Regions from separate parts of the Homo sapiens genome. Here region 2 is linked to region 1. Evidence: promoter capture Hi-C in human tissues and cell types (Jung and others, 2019). All regions are on one chromosome and are shown on one strand. Each heading gives the region's core, a stretch centred on a gene start or on the middle of the fragment in contact. The rest is flanking DNA. Distances are from core to core; before and after follow the strand shown.

Evidence for each region. The method cuts DNA at HindIII sites, captures the fragments that hold promoters and counts their contacts. A contact is called where the count stands out against the background at its distance.
Region 2: a fragment that was not itself captured here is called in contact with the fragment with the promoter of BSPRY in region 1 in 2 of the 25 tissues and cell types used here (heart left ventricle and mesendoderm cells).

What each region holds. Positions count from the first base shown.
Region 1 is chr9:113,347,698-113,350,790 of GRCh38, forward strand. BSPRY (B-box and SPRY domain containing) reads left to right here and starts at 1,844. Exons shown (of 6, transcript NM_017688.3): 1 at 1,844-2,083. The coding sequence starts at 1,883. RefSeq lists silencers at 1,812-1,881, 1,912-2,191. The HindIII fragment of the contact is 5,403 bases long and covers 1-3,093 here.
Region 2 is chr9:113,493,134-113,496,043 of GRCh38, forward strand. It overlaps RGS3 (regulator of G protein signaling 3), which reads left to right. Exons shown (of 23, transcript NM_001394167.1): 6 at 2,653-2,713. Among named protein-coding and RNA genes, the nearest start is that of RGS3, 31 kb to the left of the region's middle. The HindIII fragment of the contact is 6,530 bases long and covers 1-2,910 here.

The DNA of each region.
Region 1 (3,093 bases), core at 594-3,093:
CCCTCTAAGGTAGATGATAGTATTATTATCACCTCTGTTGTAGAGATAAGAAAACAGACACAGAAGCTGTGAGTAACCTGACCAAGATCCCATAGCTGTAAGCTGCATAGCTGGGATGAAACCAATGACTATATTTCACTCAGTGTTCTCTCTAATCATATGGTGTAATATTGTCTATCTGGGGTGACAATGTGTCCCCATTGGATGATGACACCACTGTGTACCGCTCTGGGTAGCTCTGGGGCTGTTAGCTGCCCTTACCCCTCAGGTGCTAAAGCAGTAGTGGCTGAGAAGGAAAGGGTTCTATCTCCTTTGTGTGGCCATTGCTTAGAGAAGCTTCAGAGTAGAGGTGCTAGAGCCCCTGTGAGCTATGGGATGTAATGTTTCTCTTTCGGTTTAGCTCCCGCCTGTGTTCAGTTCTGATGCACTCAGAGTACTCTCTGACACCTGAAGGCCTGGGCCCTTCCCCTTTTGAGAGAGTGCCCAGCTTTCTGCCAAGACTCCTAAGAAAGAATTTGGGGTTGGTGGCCGGGCGCGGTGGCTCACACCTGTAATCCCAGCACTTTGGGAGGCTGAAGGGGGGAGATGGCTTGAGCCCAGGAGTTTGAGATCAGCCTGGGCAACATGGCAAAACCCTGTCTCTACGAAAAATACAAAACTTAGCTGGGCACGGTGGCATGTGCCTGTAGTCCCAGCTACTCAGGAGGCTGAGGTGGGAGGATCACTTGAGCTGGGGAGGTCGAGGCTGCAGTGAGCTATGATTACACCACTGCACTCCAGCCAGGGTGACACAGTGAGACCCTATCTCAAAAAAATAAAAAAAAATAAAAAAAAAAAAGAAGAAGAAGAATTTAGAGCTGGAGAGCAGCGTTCTCCTTGTATGCCCAGACAGACTAGACTGGATCCCCAGCAGAGGGCTCAATCTGGGCTCAGACTAATATATAAGATCCTGAGGGTGGGAAAAGCCCTAAACAGCTCAGGAACATGTTAGCAGTTTTTCTTTCTGGGGTGGGAGTGGGTGGATTTTTCTTCCACATGCTTATTTGCATATTTTGTTTTCTTCGAAATAAAAAGGCATTACTTTTTTTCAATGCTAGTTTAAAAAGAAAACTCAAATATTCAAATTCAAAAAGTTTGGATGTAAATACTTTGGGAAAATCAGCCTAATACAGATATTTCTCACTGGGCCTCAATGTTCAATTTAAAAAATTATTAATTATAGTAACCTTAAGTCACACTGCCTAGGTTCCAATCTCATAGCTACCAATTAGTAACTGTGACCCTTGGCAAGCCACTTAACTTCCATAAAAATGGGATCCTAATAGTACTTTCCTCGCACTGTTAGTAGACACTTAGCGATTGCAGCTGCTATGTTCCAGATATTGTTTTACGTATTTAGCGTATTTACTCCTCAGACGTCTGGGAGGCAGGTACTCTCACCCCATTTTACAGCTGGAGTTCCCACCCAGTGAGCAGCCAAACGGGATTTGAACCAGGCAGTTTCTCAGCAGAGCCTTGCTTGAAGCTAGGCATCTAAAGCTGCCTCTCAAAAAGGGCAGTGGTCGGGATTACATAACAGAACGCTTGCAAAGCTCTCAGCGAAAGCCTGGCACTTAATAAGTGCTCAATAAAGTTTCCTACGGTCACAGTAATATTTGGAGTTTTATGTTTGTTGTAGAACAAATACGCATACAATCGCGATTTCATTCAACAAGGAATTTAAAGAGACCTGCTGCCCCGGGCGGGATGGGAGCGCGGGTTGGGTGGGAGGAGGCGCAGCTGCGGGGCGCGCTGGCGCACCGGGAGGGCCGGGGGCGGGGTCAGCCAGGCCCCGCCCGCCGCCACCTGCGACAGGTGGAGCGCACGGGGCGGGCGCACGGCCATGTCCGCCGAGGGCGCGGAGCCGGGGCCGGGGTCCGGGTCCGGGCCCGGGCCGGGGCCACTCTGCCCCGAACACGGCCAGGCTCTGAGCTGGTTCTGCGGCTCCGAGCGACGGCCCGTGTGCGCCGCCTGCGCGGGGTTGGGCGGTCGCTGCCGGGGGCACCGCATCCGCCGGGCGGAGGAGCGCGCCGAGGAGCTGCGGGTGAGCGGGTGTGGGCGCCGGAAGGCGAGGGCTCCGGAGACCCCGGGCGCGCCTGGCGGGACCCGGCAGGGACTGGGGAGCCTGGGGCTGGGCGGACTCGACACCCGGCCCCGGAGCCTAGGCTCCTCGGTGGCTTTGGCTGTAGGACTAGGCGGTTAAGGGTGTGGCCTCTGAAGTCAGGCTGGCCTGAGTTCGAATCTACTCCCTGTGAGTCACGTAACTCTGAGCCTCAGTGTCTTCATCTGTAGTTTGGGGACAACAACAATAATAATAGCGCGTATTTATTAGAGTTGTGAGAAATAAATAAGATAGTGGGTAAAATGCTTAGCGATAAGGGGATCCAGGCTCCCCAGGCCCCTTCCATTGCTCTGTTGAGGAAGCTGGGGCTGGCATGAAAGGCTCAGCTGCTCCAGTTCTCAGCGCAGGGTGTGCCCCAGCTCCCGCCCCTGTGGAAACTGACACTGATAAAATCCAGCGCGACCGTATCCCTTAACCCCTGGACTCAAAGCCCCCCTCCTCCTTTCGCCTCTTCCCCCTGCTCCTAACCCCTTCTGGCTTCTGGTGCGGTGATCTCTTTTTCGCTTTCAGGATTGGCCTTGACTGTACTTCAGGCTGGTTTAAGGGCTTCAGCTGGATAAACGGTGGGGGTAGGGAGAATATCAGGGGATTCCCCTTCACCCAGGCTTTCTCGCCACCTCCACTTCCAGCTCGGCTCCAGGGTGGCCACCTCCTTGTCATCACCATTCTCCTGAGCTGCTGAGATTGGGAGAGTCGAAGTCACCTTGGGCTTCTCTGTGGCCCCTGGGGATTTCCTTGCAATTTGATTAAACAGCTTGTTTCTCCCAACCCGACTCTGCAGTTCACCCCTGCTGTGAAGCCTGAGGGCTCTGGCTGGGGACTTCGCCTACCCAGAGTGACCTGTAATAAACACATCTTATATAGGGTGCTGGGCTCGGGAGGGGTTCAGTTTTTCAGCAACACCCAAAAGCTCCTGGTTCGTCCTACCTGTT
Region 2 (2,910 bases), core at 150-2,649, 140 kb after region 1:
CTTGCCAAGGCTTTTCTGGAATGGCAGCTCAGATTAGTTTTGGCTGTTTATGATAGTCACTGCAACTGCCTCCTATTAGTGCTGACTTGGCTACTTCCCAAGGGGGAGGAGTATTTGTTTTTGGTGGTGGGCTGGGGAGGTGGATGTGGAAGGGCACTTTATTGGGGTGAGAGCATTGTCCTTTTTGAATAGATTATTAATAGAGCCTTGGATGATGAGAGAGGCAAGGAAGAAGGCAGCAGATGGAGCCAAGGCTGAAGGAGCTGGGAGCAGGAGTGATGAACTGAGAGCAGCTGTTGAGAGACAGCCAGAAGCAGGGGCCTCAGCTCTGGGCCATGGGGCAGAGCATGGGTTTGCAGGCAGGTGGACCAGTTTTGAGGAGCAATCCCCCAGCATCCTGCCTCCCCACCCCTCGCTTGACTTGGCTGCCTGTGAGAAGCTAGTTTTGTTTTGCTTAGGACTGTCCGGTGGTAAGCTGCCACGCTTTCTGGAGAATCTGAACAATATGTCTTTTTTGAGACCTTCTAGATCACTGGTCTTTGACTGGGGCAGGCATAAGTGGGTGCTTGGCAGGATACCCTGGAGAGCTTTCTCCAGGCTCCCATGCTCGAACCCCACCTTGGACCAACTAATTTTGGGTTCTCAGGAAGAAGTCCTGGAGCATATACCTCAGACAGGCTGTTCAGGTGGTTTTGTGGTACACTTCTGGATAGAACCACTGCTCTAGCTCAGGCCCCCTTAGACCAGGTTTTGGAAAACACATCTCTAGGGAGTTTACTACCTATCCAGAAGCCTGTTCCATCTTTGGTTTTGATATTGTGCCTTCCATAGGACATGCCAAATCTCTCAGCTATGTGGGTCCTTCAGCTATTGAAGCCAGCCTCCAGGGTTATGCTCCAGCCTAAATATCCACGATGTTTCTTGATTAATAGTTATTAAACCAACCTATGAATTAGTCCAAGTTGAGGATGGGGTAAGAGAGAGGAGAACAGAAAGATGACATTAAAAAAAAACTCTTACTGTCAGGATAGAACAGGATGTGGCACAATAAAAGTCCTTAAAAGTATATTGATACTGTCTTTTTTTTTCTCCTGATTATAAAAACGATACTTGTTCCCTATGCAAACAGTGAAAACCCATAAAGGAAAATTAAACCCCTAGTAATCCCACCTACCAGATATGACCATTGTTAGTATTTTTGTGGGTGTCTTTCTCATTAAACTCACATTACTCATTAAATTTACAGCTTTGTAAACTTCTTTTTCTCTAACAATATCAAGATATTTTTGGACTTTATTAATATTAACTGATGTTATCATTATTATTTTTTTGAGACAGTGTCTTGCTCTGTTGCTGCAACTGCCTCCTGTTAGTGCTGACTTGGCCACTTCCCAAGAGGGAGGAACAGTAACACACAATCACAGTTCACTGCAGCTTTGACCTCCCAGGCTCAAGTGATCCTCCTACCTCAGCCTCCTCAGTAGCTGGGGCTACAGGCTCATGCCACCATGCCCTGCTATTTTAAAAATTTTTTGTAGAGATGGTGTCTCCCTTTGTTGTCCAGGCTGGTCTCAAACTCCTGGGCTCAAGTGATGCCTTCCAAAGTGCTGGATTACAGGTGTGAGCCACTGCACCTGGCCCATGCCATCATTATTAAAAGCTGCCAACTCTTAGTCCCTGATTATTGGACATTGAGCCTCAATGGTGGACATTCTTCAGGAACTCTGAATTCTTCTTCTTCTTCTTCTTCTTTTTTTTTGAGATGGAGTCTTGGCTCTGTCACCCAGGCTGCAGTGCAGTGGTGCGATCTTGGCTCACTGCAACTCCACCTCCTGGTTTCAAGTGACTCTCCTGCCTCAGCCTCCTGAGTAGCTAGGATTATAAGCATGCACCACCACGTAGGGCTAATTTTTGTATTTTTAGTAGAGACAGGGTTTCACCATGTTGGCCAGGCTGTTCTCAAACTCCTGACCTCAAGTGATCTGCCTGCCTGTGCCTCCCAAAGTGCTGGCATTACAGGCGTGAGCCACCGTGCCCAGCTGTGAATTCTTTTTAACCAAGAAGATTGAATTTAGCCCCTCGCCATAGTCTGACATCCCCATGAGGCCTGACCCTGGCCCATGCCTACCTGCCCTGCTGGTGGCCAGGTCAGATTGGTCTCAGCAGCTTTTGTGTCAGGTTGGTTTGGACCTTGATCTGTAGCCATCTAAGAACTGCTCAGCTCCTTCCTGGACCTGAGATAGAACTTCTTGAGCTTGAGGTCCCATAACTGTTCTCCTCCACTGAGCATCACCAATGATGTGGGCAAGGAGGTTCCCTGTGGGGACCAGCTCTTCAGATCTACCTAGCACCAGAACGGTTAAAACTCATGAAGTACCGCTGAGCTTCTGTGTTTGGTAGAGGCAGTGCTGAACTTGTCCTGTGACCTTGGGAAAGGGACCAACTCTGAGTCTCCATTTTTCCCTCTGTAAAATGGAGATAATAGCTCCTCTCTATCCTGCCTCACAGAGTCAGAAGGATCAAACGAGATGATGTGGGTAAAAAGCTTTGTAAACCACAGTGCATCAGGCAAACCCATGCTATACTTGATAATGGACCTCCCGATAGAGCCCAGAAAAAAAATGCTGACTCAAGTCTCACTTGTTCTCCCAGACAGAGTGGACTCATTGGCTGCATGAGCTTTGGGGTGAAGTCTCTCCTGACTCCAGACAAGGTGGGTCCTAGGGATGCTTCTGTCAGGATCATCCCAACTGGGCCGGGGCTGGTACAGGCAGAGTTTCTCTGTCAGCTCTTGGGCAGGGCTTCTCTCTGTGAGATGGTGCCCCACTGAGACAGGTGCCCTGTGGGGTGGCCTGCATAGCAGCACTGTGTTTATTACCTGCCTAGCTGAGAGTTTGGGTCCCCTTCTTG